Regions from separate parts of the Homo sapiens genome. Here region 2 is linked to region 1. Evidence: promoter capture Hi-C in human tissues and cell types (Jung and others, 2019). All regions are on one chromosome and are shown on one strand. Each heading gives the region's core, a stretch centred on a gene start or on the middle of the fragment in contact. The rest is flanking DNA. Distances are from core to core; before and after follow the strand shown. Region 1 overlaps ZNF808 (zinc finger protein 808). Region 2 holds the start of ZNF665 (zinc finger protein 665).

Region 1 (7,271 bases), core at 2,510-5,009:
CTCCCAGAAAAATGTTCAAAATACACACAACTGTGCACACATAGCAATAGATGTTTAAAACACTGAAAAAGAGGCAGCTGTAGAAATGAGATCTGAGCAAATGCTTTTCTCAAGAACACATGGGCTCTGCTAAACCAAGGTTCCAAGTCAATCCAGCCCATCCTTCAACATCTGTAGAGAATATTATGGACCAGAGGGAATTGAGGGGACACTTACTTAGAAGCTCACAGATTACCATTTTTTCAGATGACATAAGAAAAAAAAATGGAATAGGCTACTTCAACTGAATTTTCATGTTAGGGTAAAGAAAAAAGGTCCTTGATATCATTATCAAGTACACACTGAAACAACCTAACAACATATATCACATAGTAGAAAATGTTTTCGATATATGATAAAGACTAGAAAGCACACAGACCTCAATGTAAACTCAAAAAAATTTCATAGAGAAACAATTTTAAAATGGTTAAAAAATACAGATCTAATGAAATCTTGGGCCAAAGGAGAAATATTTGAAAATATATCATACTTTGAAAACAATGAGGACAGGCATAGTGACTCACGCCTATAATCCCAGCACTTTGGGAGGCCGGGGCAGGAAGACCACAATGTTAGGGGTTCGAGACCAGCCTGGCCAATATGGAGAAACTATGTCTCTACTAAAAATACAAACATTAGCAGGGCATAGTGGTGCACACCTGTAACTCCAGCTACTCAGGAGGCTGAGGCAGGAAAATCGCTTGACCCCAGGAGGCGGAGTTTGCAGTGAGACGAGGTCGTGCCACTAGACTCCAGAGTGGGTGACAGAGAGTCTCAATAAATAAATACATATATCTAAACATTAGCCGGACCTGGTGGGGTGTGTCTGTGGCCCCAGCTACTCCGGAGGCTGAGGTGGGAAAATCACTTGAGCCCAGGAGGTTGCCGCTGCACAGTGCTGTGATCCTGCCACTGCACTCCAGCCTGGGAAACAGTAAAAGTGTCTCAAAACAATAACAAAGGCCGGGCGCAGCGGCTCATACCTGTAATCCCAGCACCTTGGGAGGCTGAGGTGGGAGGATCACCTGAGGTCAGGAGTTCAAGACCAGCCTGACCAAGATGGAGAAACCCCATCTCCACTGAAAATACAAAATTAGCCGGCCATGGTGGTGTGTGCCTGTAATCATAACTACTCAGGAGGCTGAGGCAGGAGAATCACTTGAACCCCAGAGGCAAAGGTTGCAGTGAGCAAGATCGCACCATTGCACTTCACCCTGGGCAACAAGACCAAAACTCCGTCAAAAAAAAAAAAAAAAAAAAAAAAACCACCACAACAAAAATAAGTAAATTAAAACTAAAATTAAAAAATAAAAAACAATTACTGAGGCCAAGTGTGGTGGCTCACGCCTGTAATCATAGCACTTTGGGAGGCCAAGGCGGTGGATCACAAGGTCATGAGTGCAAGACAAGTCCCGCCTAGATGGTGAAAACTGTCTCTACTAAAAATACAAAAATCAGACAGGTGTGGCTGCAGGTGCCTATAATCCCAGCTGCTTGGGAGGCTGAGGCAGAGAATTCCTTGAACCCAGGAGGCAGAGGTTGCAGTGAGTCAAGACTGCTCCACTCCACTCCAGCCTGCGTGACACAGAGAGACTCCATCTCAAAAATTAAAAAAAAAAAAAAAAAAAATGAAATGAAGAGGAACTAGAAAAAAGGAAACCAATTACAAAAAGAGAACAAAAGCACTTTTAATACTCCTTTCATCACGTTCCATATAGTAACAGAGTCAGTCACTTCTTACCCTACTTCTCTCCCCCACTCCCGACCCCAGCCATGAAAAGGGAAGAGGGTGATCCACAACGAATGAGTCAAGTCACTGTCCTCTGGCTGAAGAGGGGTTGCAGAGGGAAGCTGCCTCTGACGCCATCATTATAAAATGAACCACACTTAGACACAGGAGTTTGGCAACTCTCATTCTCATCTGTATAATTTAAACTAATTTTAAATTTGTTACCTTATAAACAGAGAAAACAACATGTCATCACTTCATCATCACATCCAATCAACTCACCACTCATCTGCACCCAGGGTCCCTCTTCGTCTTCATTACTGCTTCCCTCCATCATTCTATGCATAGCCCTTTCTCACTTTCTCTCTCCATCTGTTTCTTTTCTGCATTTCCCCCTGGGCTTCTGCTCATTTTATGCCCCTCTCCTGTTTTGCTCCATTCTTTTTTGGTTTTTTTGAGACAGAGTTTCGCTCTTATTGCCCACGCTGAAGTACAATGGTGCGATCTCAGCTCACCACAACCTCTGCCTCCTGGGTTCAAGTGATTCTCCTGCCTCGGCCTCCTAATCCAAAATTAGCAGGGCATGGTGGCGCATGCCTGTAATCCCAGATACTCAGGGGGTAGTATCGCAGGAGAATCGCTTCAACTCTAAAGGCACAGAGAGTCATTAGCCAAGATTGTGCCATTGCACTCCAGCCTGGGCAACAGGAGTGAAACTCCACCTCAAAAAACTAATAATAATAATAATAATAATTAGTATGTAGGCCGGGCGCGGTGGCTCATCCCTGTAATCCCAGTACTTTGCAAGGCCAAGACGGGGGAACCTTTGAGCCCAGGATTTTGAGACCACCCCGGGAAACATACTGAAACCCTGTTTCTACAAAAAAACAAACAAAGAAAAAAAAAACTACTAGCTGGGCTTGGTGTCTCACACCAGTGGTCTCAGCTACTCAGGAGACTGAGGGAGGATCGCTTGAGCCTAAGAGGTCGAGGCTGCAGTTAGAGTAGATAACGCCATTGTACTCCAGCTGAGCGACAGAGCCAGACCCTATCTCAAAATATTAATTAATTAATTAAAAGTATTATGTAATAACAGCGATTTTTTTTTCCCACCACTTCCTACCCCACCATGGGAAAAGGGAAGAGTGACCCACAATTGAATGTCACTGCCCTCGGTCTGAATAGGGATTCCAAGTGGAAGCTAACCTCTGATACCAATATTTATAGAACATACATGGCTCACAGATAGGACATTTAAAATTCTCAAACTCATCTGTATAATTTAAACAAGTTATTAGATTTTATAGACAGAAGTCAACATGTCACAACTAATCATATCCAATGAACTCACACACTCATCTGTACCCAAAGTCCCCCACCCTTTTTTTTTTTTTTTTGAGACAGGGTCTTGCTCTTTTGACCAGGCTGGAGTACAGTGGCATGATCTCTGCTCACAGCAGCCTGGAGCTCCTGGGCTCAAGTGATCCTCCAGCCTCCGCCTACAGAGTAGCTGAAATTACAGCTGCACACTATCATGCCCCGTTAATTTTTTCTTTCTTTTTGAAAGAGATGGGGTGTCTATTTTGCCTAGGCTGGTCTTGAACTCCTGGACTCAAGCAATCCCTCTGCCTCAGTCTCCTAAAGTGCTGGGATTACAGGCATGAGCCACTGCACCTGGCCCCTCTTTCTTCATTACTGTGCTTCCCTCTCTAATTCTGTACATATCTCTCATTCTCCCCTTCTCTCTCTAGCTCTTGTTTTCTTTTCTTTTTCCCTGGGATTGTGCTCCTCATTTTGTACCCCTCTACTCTCCTGCTATTTATCCCCTTCTTCCCTCTATTACTCCTCTTCCACCTCTTCTGCTCCATCCTCACAACTTATTTAACCGCTTTTTTTTTGAGAAAGAGTTTCACTCTTGTTGCCCAGGCTGGAGTGCAATGGTGCGATCTCGGCTCACCGCAACCTCCGCCTCCCAAGTTCAAGCGATTCTCTGGCCTCAGCCTCCCTAATAGCTGACATTACAGGCATATGCAACCGCGCCCAGCTAGTTTTGTATTTTTAGCAGGGATGGGGTTTCTCCATGTTGGTCAGGCTGGTCTCGAACTCCGGATCTCAGGTGATCCGCCCGCCTAAGCTTCCCAAACTGCTGGGATTACAGGCATGAGCCAAAGCGCCCGGTCCTTATTTAACCTCTTGTTGCTCCTTCTCCCCAATCTTTTGATCGTCCTCAATCTCTACATATTACCGCCTCTTATCTCTGCGTCTCCTCTGCTCTCCCTGTTAAATTCTCTCTTCCCTGTTACGCCCCCCTGTCCCCACTCTCTAGCACCCCAGATCCCCCGGTGTCCTCCCTGCTGTGTTTCTCCCTCTGTTCTCATTGCCACCAGCACCACTCTGCGGGTTTGGGGTAAGACACCCGCATCGCGGAGAAGCGCATTTTCCGGAGGGTGGAGCTGGGCAGGCAAGAATACCCGGTGTCATAGGACAAGCCGCTGGGACCTGCCCTACGCTGGTTCAGGGGAAGCGGTGACTGCGAAGGGAAGAATTGGGGAGCAGCAGGGCCCACCACGAGGGGGGATGTAGGGGGCGACGGCGCCTTAAGACAAGGGTGGCACCTGCAGAATTCCAGGACCAGGCAGAAGACGCAGCCTCCCCAGGACTGGGGACACAGCGCTTCGCTCCAGGGGCCGAAGACGGAGAGGCTGGGAGGCGCCCAGGGCGGGAATCCACCTCGCGGGTCGGGGACTTTAAAAAGAACGGGGTGGGTGGAGTCAGCACAGGGTTTTGACCAGGAAAACTAAGCGACAGGAAGTGTATACACTGCCCTATAGCAGAAAGACCGGGGTTGGGACCAGCCTCCGGACGAGTTCAAACCCAAAAGCAAGCAACTTCCGGACTCTTACGGGGACATCTCAATTTGCTCTGGATGAAGGAAGACAGGCGAGAATTTCCAGGTCCGTGGGGACCCCACTTTCCAGGGACAGACGCGCCAGGGACCTGGGAAGCGCAAACTTAATACAAGGCAGAGCAAAACTCACGCGCCGCGGTACGACCTTCACTCCACGCGATCCGCCTCGGGGTTTGCGCGCCCAGGACTGAAGCCAGGCCTGGGCGGGGCCGGCGAACAGTTTGGCGGGGCCTGGGCGGGGTAGAGGCGGGGCGCGAGGCAGAGAGACCTTGCCCTTTAGAACCGACAGAGGGCGGGGCCGGGGCGGGACCTGTGCATCCCTCCGCCTCGCACCCAGCGCCTGTTTTTTTCGGTGTTTGGAGGTGAGAGCGGCCAGGAAGGCTGAAGCATGATTCAAAAGCCCTGGAATTGTCTGGAACGGGCATGCAAACTAAAATGTGAAATGCAAAGCCCTGCCGGGGCGGAATATACGATTTCATGCTGATGGCCCACAGAACATAACAGAAATCCTCCCCCTTTCTATTCTCCATTCATTCAGGAGGGAGGGTCCACCCTGTGCTCAGCTTCAGAGACTTCCCTAGGGCCTCCGCCTGGGATGCGGGACGGAGTGCTCAGGCCAGGGAGGAGTGAGGTCACCACCTGCTGCCTAAACACAGCAGGGATGCGGGCACGGGGCGGAAGCCTGAGGTCCCAGCTACTCAGGAAGCAGCGGCGGGAGAATCGCTGAACCTGGGGGTCCAGGCCAGCCTGGGTGACAAAGTAACACCCCCTCCCGCAGGGCTCCCTCCCTCGTCTCTCCCTCGCTCTTTTCCTTTTCTCTCTTTTTTTTTTTTTTTTTTTTTTTTTGAGACGGAGTCTCGCTCTGTCACCCAGGCTGGAGTGCAGTGGCACGATTTTGGCTCACTGCAAGCTCCGCCTCCCGGGTTCACGCAATTCTCCTGCCTCAGCCTTTGGAGTAACTGGGACTACAGGCGCCCACCACGACGCTCGGCTAATTTTTTGTATTTTTAGTAGAGATGGGGTTTCACCATGTTAGCCAGGATGGTCTTGATCTCCTGACCTTGTGATCCGCCCACCTCAGCCTCCCAAACTGCTAGGATTACAGATGTGATCCACCCCGCCCAGCCTTTTTTTTTTTAACCCGTTTTTAAATAAAATTTTTCATGGTGTGACATAGAGATCCAATATTATTCTTTTCCATGTAAATATCCAGTTAGTTGTCCCAGCACATTTGTGAAAGAGATCTATTACTTTCTCTTTTTTTACTTTTTTCTTTCCTTTTATTTTTGAGACAGAGTATTTCTCTGTGGCCCATGCTGGGGTGCAGTTGCGAGATCGTGGCTCACTGCAGCCTCTGCCTCCTGGGTTGAAGCTATTCTTCTGCCTCAGCCTTTCGAGTAGCTGGTATTACAAGCGCACACGACCATGCCCAGCTAACTTTCATATTTTTGGTAGAGACGGGGTTTCACCATGTTGGCCAGGCTGGTCTAGAACCCTGACTTCAAGTGATCCGCCAGCCTCGGCCTCCCAAAGTGCTGGGATTACACTCGTGAGTCACCATGCCTGGCCCAGGAAATATTCTTTACTTCACTTTTTAAATGTGAGAAAATATAATTGAAAAACAAAGAGTCTTCCCCCAAATGAGAAATCATCTCCACGACGATAATAGAGAAAGAAAGAAAAACTACTTCATTAATAAATAAGCTTTAGACCAGAATGTGATGGGAAATAGAGGCAAACAGCTAAGAGGTTGAAAAGAGAGAAAGAAACTTCAGTGTTCTATACAACCCATTAAGGACATGTTTTCAAGATAAACAGTAATCAGTCCTCAGGGAAGAGGACTTGAAAAGCCCTTGGTCACACATAGTTCATCCTGGCTCTACTTGGTAATGGAGGTGACCATCTCTGTCAGCTAACAAGCTTCATCCCGAGGGAGGGGGAGAAACCCTAACACTAAGCCTAATACAAAAATTAGCTGGGCATGGTGGCAGGCGCCTGTAATTTCTCTCTATTTTTAGTAGAGACAGGGTTTCACCACGCTAGCCAAGCTGGTTTTGAAATCCTGACCTCAAGTGATCCGGAAGCCTCGGCCTCCCAAAGTGTTGTGATTACAGGCTTGAGCCATGACAGTCAGCCAGGAAAACTCCTAGAAGTTGCACCTGCATTCCACTAGACTCTGGTTGCATGACCACATTCCTCTCAAGGCTCAGAATTATTTAAATGTCCATAGCTTTAAATTGGAATCATTTGATGTTTGAATTACTTAATTTCCTACTGAGACACAGGTACAATCTATCTTGTTGCTTGCCTTTTTTTTTTTTTTTTTTTTTTTTGGAGACGGAGTCTCACTTTGTCACCCAGGCTACAGTGCAGTGGCACAATCTTGGCTCACTGCAACCTCTGCCTCTCAGGTTCAAACAATTTTCCTGAGTAGCTGGGACTACAGGCATGTGCCACCATGCCCGGCTAATTTCTTCGTATTTTTAGTAGAGACAGGGTTTCAACATGTTTGTCAGGCGGTGTCGAACTCCTGACCTCGGGATTGACCCGCCTTGGCCTCCCAAAGTGCTGGGATTACAGGCGTGAGCCACTGCG
Region 2 (7,271 bases), core at 2,397-4,896, 660 kb before region 1:
ACTGAGGTGGCCTAGGGGCGGGGCCTAGGCGGGGCGTGACCGGCACAGGGAGTGGGCTGGGGAGAAAACGCGAAGGGTGGGGCGGGGCCTGGACAGGCAGGGGGCGGGGCCGGGAGGGACCTAAGGAAGGCGGGTGGGAGCCTGCGTTTCCAGCCACCTGGTACCCAGAGCGTCCCTATTTTCTGGGTTTGGGAACACAAGTCTATTTCGTGTCCTGCGGAGCAGTTTTGCTTTCTGCTTATTTTAAGTTAATGTCTCAATTTTAAGGTAAACCCTTAGAGTTATGTGGGCCATCTCTGTTGGAAAGTAAGATGTTTTCCTAAGTTGCAAACTTAAGTTGCTCAACTATTTTTAAAAAGTTACTGCTTTTTCTAAAGCAAGAGTTAATATCACCGGTATTAGCCCTCCTCGCTCCACACCCCAGGTATTTACCATATGAAAATCTCTGCAACTGTGCACAGGGCTGACTCTCTCCCTCCATGGTGAATGGGTGTAGAATGTGGAGGGGATTGCATTAAGTTCTGTTGAGAGGTGACTTGAAATTACTTACACATTCTGCCCAGGCAGAGTTTTGCATTTCACATTCTAGTTTGCATACCCTTCACAGACATTTTCAGGGCTTTTTAGTTAAGTTGCTTAAATTAATTCAAATTGCAGAAACTTTCCTGGATTCAATCTACCCCAAACCGACACCCCCAGAGATGCCAGATCCCCACCCAGAGTTGCTTCAGTCTCACTAGCAGCTCTTCTGTCCTACCTGCTGGCAGTAATAACCATTTCAACGTGAACCATTTCAACTTCTGTCCCATTCGCTGGCAAAAATACCTTTTAACGTATTTTAACGTATTAACGTATAAGTTTAACCATTTCAACTTTCTTTTGCCCAAGATTCCTATTCCCATGGTCAGGTTGGGATCTACCCTCAATAATAACTACGGTGGCCCAGGGCGTTGTAATCTGTGTGCAGCATTGAGCACCAAGGCTCTGTGTTCTGCGTTTCTGATTACATTTTTCAGCTCTAAAATTTCTCTGTTTTTCCTTTATAGCTTCTGTCTCTCTATTGATAGTCTCATTTTGCTCATATCTTGTTTTCCTGATTTCCTGTGGTTGTCTATGTGTGCTCTCCTCTTAATTCATTGACCATCTTGTGACTCTTATTTTCAATTCTTTGTCTGATAATTCACACATCTTCATTTCTTTAGTGTCAGTTTGTGGTGGTTTCATTTGTTCCTTTGTGTGGATCATGTTTCCTTTTCTCCTTGAATGTCTTGTTATCTTGGCACCTCAGCATTTCACTAATCAACCAGTCCTACTTTTTTATTTCTGGCTTCCTTCAGGGAGGACCTTCTCTATTCAGCCTGACTAGAGATTCTGGAAACCTCTGAAGCCTTTTCTGGGAATGTGTCGTCTCTGGGCTTTTGCTTGTAGTTACCTGAGAAGGTTTGCCAGTTTTTCTTCAGGAGAGCTCCTGTTGACAGTCTGCAATTCTGCAGTCCCTGTGTTTTCATGGTAAGCTGTGGTCTGGTTCTCCACCTAGTGTCTGCCTGCGTTACTGCAGACTCTCGTTTATGTTGCTTGCCTTTGTTCTCAATGGTTTCCCTGACCTGGCATCCTGTCACTTTTGATGGTACTTCTGTTACTTAACTGATTCTTTAGGTTTAATTGTAATTGTTGAGGGGTTTTTTGTTTTTGTTTTGTCTTTATTTTGTTGAGATGGGGTTTCACTATATTGCCCAGGCTGGTCTTGAACTCCTGGGCTCAAGCACCCCTCCTGCCTCAGGCTCTCAAAGTGCTGGGATTACAGGTGTGAGCCACTGCTCTCAGCCTAACTGTAATTCTTAGATGCCTGGGTTCGGGGCTTGCTCTGTCATTTCTAGCTCTTGGACCTTAGGCCAGTTTCTTAGCGTATCTGTGACAGTTTCTTTCTTTTTCTTTTTTTTGAGACGGAGTCTTGCTCTCGCCCAGGCTGGAGTGCAGGGGCGCCATCTCGGCTCACTGCAAGCTCCGCCTCCCGGGTTCACGCCATTCTCCTGCCTCAGCCTCCCGAGTAGAGTAGCTGGGACTACAGGCGCCCGCCACCACGCCCGGCTAATTTTTTTGTATTATCATTAGAGACGGGGTTTCACCGTGTTAGCCAGGATGGTCTCCTGGTGACCATCGTGATCCGCCCGGCTCGTGATCCGGTCCTGACCTCGTGATCCGCCCAGCTCGGCCTCCCAAAGTGCTGGGATTACAGGCGTGAGCCACAGCGCCCGGCCGACACAGTTGTTTCCTAGTAAGATAGGAAAAGATCTTTTTCTCATGGGCTATTATGTTGTTATTTGAGTTAATACAGGTAAAGTATTCCGAATAATGCCTTGCACATAGTGTTCAGAAAAGTCAGTCATTGCTATTGCCATTATCATCACAGTTTTTACTTCTGGCCAGTGTTTCTGTAAAGCCACTGTGGACCTTGTCACCTCAGAAGACATCATTCGTGCTTTAGCTTATCTAGATACGGAGTATCACTTAGTGTGTTGAAAATAATATCTAACACTTCTATAGAGATCAGCTTGTGTTTGGGTTTTTATTTGTCTATTTATTGTATTGTCCACAAAACTGAAAACTCCACACAGATTTAGAGGCTATTATAACTACTTAGGGAAAAGTACAATAAAACAGAATTAGGGAGACATAACTTGCTCAAAAATGCCTTCACGCTGGGGCGGTGGCTCAGTGAGCCGAGATCATGCCATTGCATTCCAGCCTGGGCGACAAGAGCAAGACTCTTGTCTAAAAAAAAAAAAAAAAAAAAAAAAACAACAACAAACCTCACATATTCGTATTTAAGAATATAGGAAACACTGATTCAGTTTCTTCTACTGTTCTCTCACAACACAGAATGCTACAGTTAGCCCAGAGGTACTGGGTTTTCCCACACACACCAAGCAAGCAATCCTGCCACAGACACCAGGTGCGTGTTCTCTCATTCCGTTCCATTTTGCCGGGACATGGCATCAGATCCCACACGTTGAGGGCTCAGTCCCACAATAGTGCACACATTTCAATGCCAGTCTCAAGCAGAGGTTGTGACTTGTGCTTACAGATCAGATATAAATCCAGGAGTCCCTTGACCCCCTCCTCAGGTTCAACGAATTTGCTAGAGTGGCTCACAAAATACAGGGAAACACTTTACATAGATTTACGTATTATAAAGGATATTACAAAGTTGACAGAAGAACAGCCAGATGGAAGGGATCAGTGAGGTGAGGCATGGGAGAAGGGGCGTTGAGCCTTGGTGCCCTCCCTGGGTGCACCACGCTGCAGGAGCCTCCCAGTGTTCACCTATCCAGAAGCTCCGCTGAATCCTCTCCTTTTGGGTTGTTATGGCGCCTTCATTACATATGCATGATTGCTTATATTACTGGCCATTGGTTAAACTTTTAGATAGCCTAAGTTTTGTTTTTTTTTTTTTTTGGGAGAGACGAAGTCTCACTCTGTCACCCAGGCTGGAGTGCAATGGCGCGATATCGGCTCATTGCAACCTCCGCCTCCAGGGTTCAGGCCCCGCCCCGGCCCCGCCCACCCTATGCTCTCAGTCCCTCCCAACGCCTGGCCTTTCCCCACCGCAACCCGCCCCTTTGCCTACTGCGCGGGCAGTTTCTTGCAAACCCGGAAGCAGATCTCTTGGAGTGAAGGCTGTTAGTCGCCGCGTGAGTTTCCCTCTATCTAGATTAAACCTGCGTTTCGGAGTCCCCTGCTCCTCCGTACCCGATGTCCGGGGGTTCGTATAGCCCTTAAAGTCCCCGCACGGCTCCCTCCATTCCATGTAAATTCAGACTTTGCCGCGAGACTCTGGGGGTCGCATCGCTTTGGGTTAAAATCACACAGGCTGGTCCTGCCCGCGGTCTTTCGGCCTTCAGACCATGCAGACACCTCCTTTCCTGCGCCGTTTCCTGCTTAAAACCCTTTACTGACCTGCGCCCTGTGAAGTCCTCATCTGCGAAGTGGGTGCAGGATTTTACCGTCCCCTAACCTCGCCCTAGTCAGCTACTGGAGCGTTAGCGCCGCAGCCCCAGTCCCGGGGAGGCCGCGCCTCTGCCTGGTCCTGGGATCCTGCATACCCCACCCCTCTCCTAAGGCGCCGTCGCCCCCCACCTCCCTCCTCCTCGTGCCGGGCCCTGCTGCTCCCTAGGCCTCCCCTTCGCAGTCACCGTTTCCCCTGAGCCCGCGTTGGGGAGGTGCCCGGGCCTTGTCCTGTGATACCCGGTGTTCTTGCCTGCCCAGCTCCACCCGCTGGAAAATGTGCTCCTCCAGGATCCAGGTGTCTTACTCCAAACCCTCCCTGTGAATGTGTGGGCCAAGGGGATCAGGAGACAGAGAGGGGGGCTGAGAGAAAAGTAGAAAAACGGAGACAGAGGAAAGAATGAGGGAAACCAGTAAACATGGCAAAGTAGAGGATGGGTCAGGATTTACAAAGAGACAGTAAGGGTGAAAGAAGTCGCTGAGAAAGTAACAGGATGGAGAAACAACTGGAGAAATGTAGAGAAAAGCTCGCTGTCTAGAGAGATGAAGGACAGCAAGGTAGGGAGAGGGGCAGCTCCTCAGACGGAGAGTTAGGGAGAGGAGGGGGTATTTGGAGCCAGGATAGACAGAGCAGCGTGGTGCTGGGACAGCAAGAAGGGGCAGCTGGTGACAAGGAGAGCAGAGGGAGAACCACAGCAGGGGGAGACCTGGGATCTGGGGGTGCCAAAGAGTGGGGACAAGGAAGTGAAACAGGGAAGAGGGGATTTAACAGGGAGAGCAGAGATAAGGGAAGAAAGAGGCAGAAATAGATGGAGATTGGGGACAACCAAAAGACGGGTGAAAGAGGAATAAGAGGTGAAACAAGTTGCAAGAATGGAACAGAACAAGTGGAAGAGAAGGATAGAGGGAAGGAGAAACAGCAGGAGAAGAGAGGGGCTCAAAATGAGGAGCAGAGACCCAGGCTGAAACACAGAAAAGAAACAAGGAGAGAGAAGAAGAGAATGAGAGAGATGTACAGAATGAGGGAGGGAAACACACAGGAAGGAAGAAAGAGGGGGACTATGGCCCAGATGCATGGTGGTTTCATTGGATATGGATAATTACATCGTGATATATTGATTTCTGTATCCATAATCTAACAAATTTTTTTTTTCTTAAGACAGAATCTCACTCTATTTCCCAGACTGGCGTGCAATGGCACGATCTCGACTCACTGTAACTCCGCCTCCTGGGTTCAAGCGATTCTCTTGCCTCAGCCTCCCGAGTAGCTGGGATTACAGGCATGCACCACCACACCTGGCTAACTTTTGTATTTTTAGTAGAGACGGGGTTTCACTATGTTGACCAGGCTGGTCTCGAACTCCTGACCTCAGGTGATCTACCCACCTCAGCGTCCCAAAATGCTGGGATTACAGGCATGAGCCACTGTGCCCAGCCCCTAATAATCTAACAAATTTTATATGTATATATTTTGTTTCTGTTATGGAGATGCTGGTGAGAATCACAAAAGTTTTGTCTATAAGACATGTGCATTTTATAATTCCTGGCATCAGAGGTTAGCTTCTATTTGCAATCTCTGTTCTAAGAGAGCAGTGACTTGACTCATTCAGTTATGGGTCACCCTCTTTCCTTTTCCTAGGATGGGGTAATGTGTAGGCAAGTGTATGAGTGAGGAGGAAAAACCAAAGTGTTTTTCCCACTCTCATAATCAAGTAATGAACGCTCAACAAAGAATGCATCGCCTCTCATCACCAAAACGTGTGGGGTGGGGATTTCTCCTCACCAACACGCAGTTCTTGAACAAACACTACCTGACTGTCCAATAATTTAATTCAATTCGGACACTGTCTACCCAGAGTTAGCATTAGATCCCACTAGTTGAGGGTTCCCTCTTCAGATACCAGCCCCAAGTCCCAGATTCGGAGCTTCGGATCCATTGAGTATAAATTTGGGATTCTCCTCATCCCTTCCTGAGGTGCTATTAATTTGCCAGAGCAGCTCATAGAACTCAGGGAAACATTTTCCTTGGTTTACCCAATTGTTTTTTGTTTGCCGGTCTGTTTTTGAGACGGAGTCTTGCTCTGTCACCCAGGCTGGAGTGCAATGGCACGATCTTGGCTCACTGCAACCTCCGCTTCCTGGGCTCAAGCAATTCTCCTGCCTCAGCCTCCCAAGTAGCTGGGATTACAGGCGTCCGCCACCACACCCAGATAATTTTTGTGTTTTTAGTAGAGAAGGGGGTTCACCATGTTGGCCAGGCTGGTCTTGAACTCCTGATCTCAGGTAATCCACCCACCTTGGCCTCCCAAAGTGCCGGGATTACAGGCATGAGCTACCGCACCCGGCCTACCTAATTGTTATAAAGGATACTACGAAGCATACAGATGAATGGTTTTAGCAAGTTAATTGAATCCAAGGAAGGGGTTAAGAGAATCACGGTATTTATCTGGTGAGAGTGTAGCCAACAGCTACTAGTAGCATGTAGCACACTGAGATCTTCACCTGGGAGAACTGACAGTGTCAGAGTGGAGTGAAATTGTAGGACCCACCACTGGGAGTGCACTGCAGAACTGGTCATTGTGGGAAAAACTGCACACATTTTGGTGACTACAAGTGAAGTATTCTGGGTTGAGTGTGACAATAGTATGAACAGTTTAATTTTTTCCTGTCTCAAACAGTAAAGGGAAGAGCTCTCCAACGGGCCCACCCACCTGTCTTAAGGCCTGCAATCTCAACTCAGGAGGTACTGGGAATGGTCTGTCCCTGCTCCGGGCTGTTGCTGGCTGTGGGCGGCATGCCACCCAGGTGCCAAGGCAAGAGACAGAGAACACGAGCTGTTCCAGTATAATAAAATATAAAACAAGAATAGTTATACCAGATATAGATCTTAGATATGATTATATATGAATATCATTAATCATTAGTTTGTAGCAATTACTTTTTATTCCAATATTATAATAATCCTCGCTCTATAATCATAGCCTAGGAAAAACCAGGCCATACAGAGATAGGAGCTGAGGGGACATAGTGAGGTGTGACCAGAAGACAAGAGTGCGAGCCTTCTGTTATGCCCGGACAGGGCCACCGGAGGGCTCCTTGGTCTAGTGGTGACGCCAGCGTCTGGGAAGATGCCCGTTGCCAGGCGGACCGTGGTCTAGGGGTAGCGTAAGTGTCAAATGAAAACACCCGCTACTTAGCAGACTGGGGAAGGGAGTCTCCCTTTCCCCGGGGGAGTTTAGAGAAGACTCTACTCCTCCACCTCTTGT

Evidence for each region. Contacts are between HindIII fragments. The study calls those that stand out against the background at their distance.
Region 2: a contact is called between the fragment with the promoter of ZNF665 here and a fragment that was not itself captured in region 1, in 1 of the 25 tissues and cell types used here (IMR-90 fibroblasts).

The regions. Positions count from the first base shown.
Region 1 is chr19:52,533,582-52,540,852 of GRCh38, reverse strand. The region is part of intron 2 of ZNF808 (zinc finger protein 808); the gene reads right to left. Among named protein-coding and RNA genes, the nearest start is that of ZNF808, 9.5 kb to the right of the region's middle. RefSeq lists enhancers at 4,333-4,462, 4,199-4,785, 4,593-4,822. The HindIII fragment of the contact is 7,454 bases long and covers 33-7,271 here.
Region 2 is chr19:53,189,733-53,197,003 of GRCh38, reverse strand. It overlaps ZNF665 (zinc finger protein 665), which reads left to right and starts at 3,646. Exons shown (of 4, transcript NM_024733.5): 1 at 3,646-3,692. RefSeq lists a silencer at 1-2 and an enhancer at 3,681-3,830. The HindIII fragment of the contact is 23,654 bases long and covers 1-7,271 here.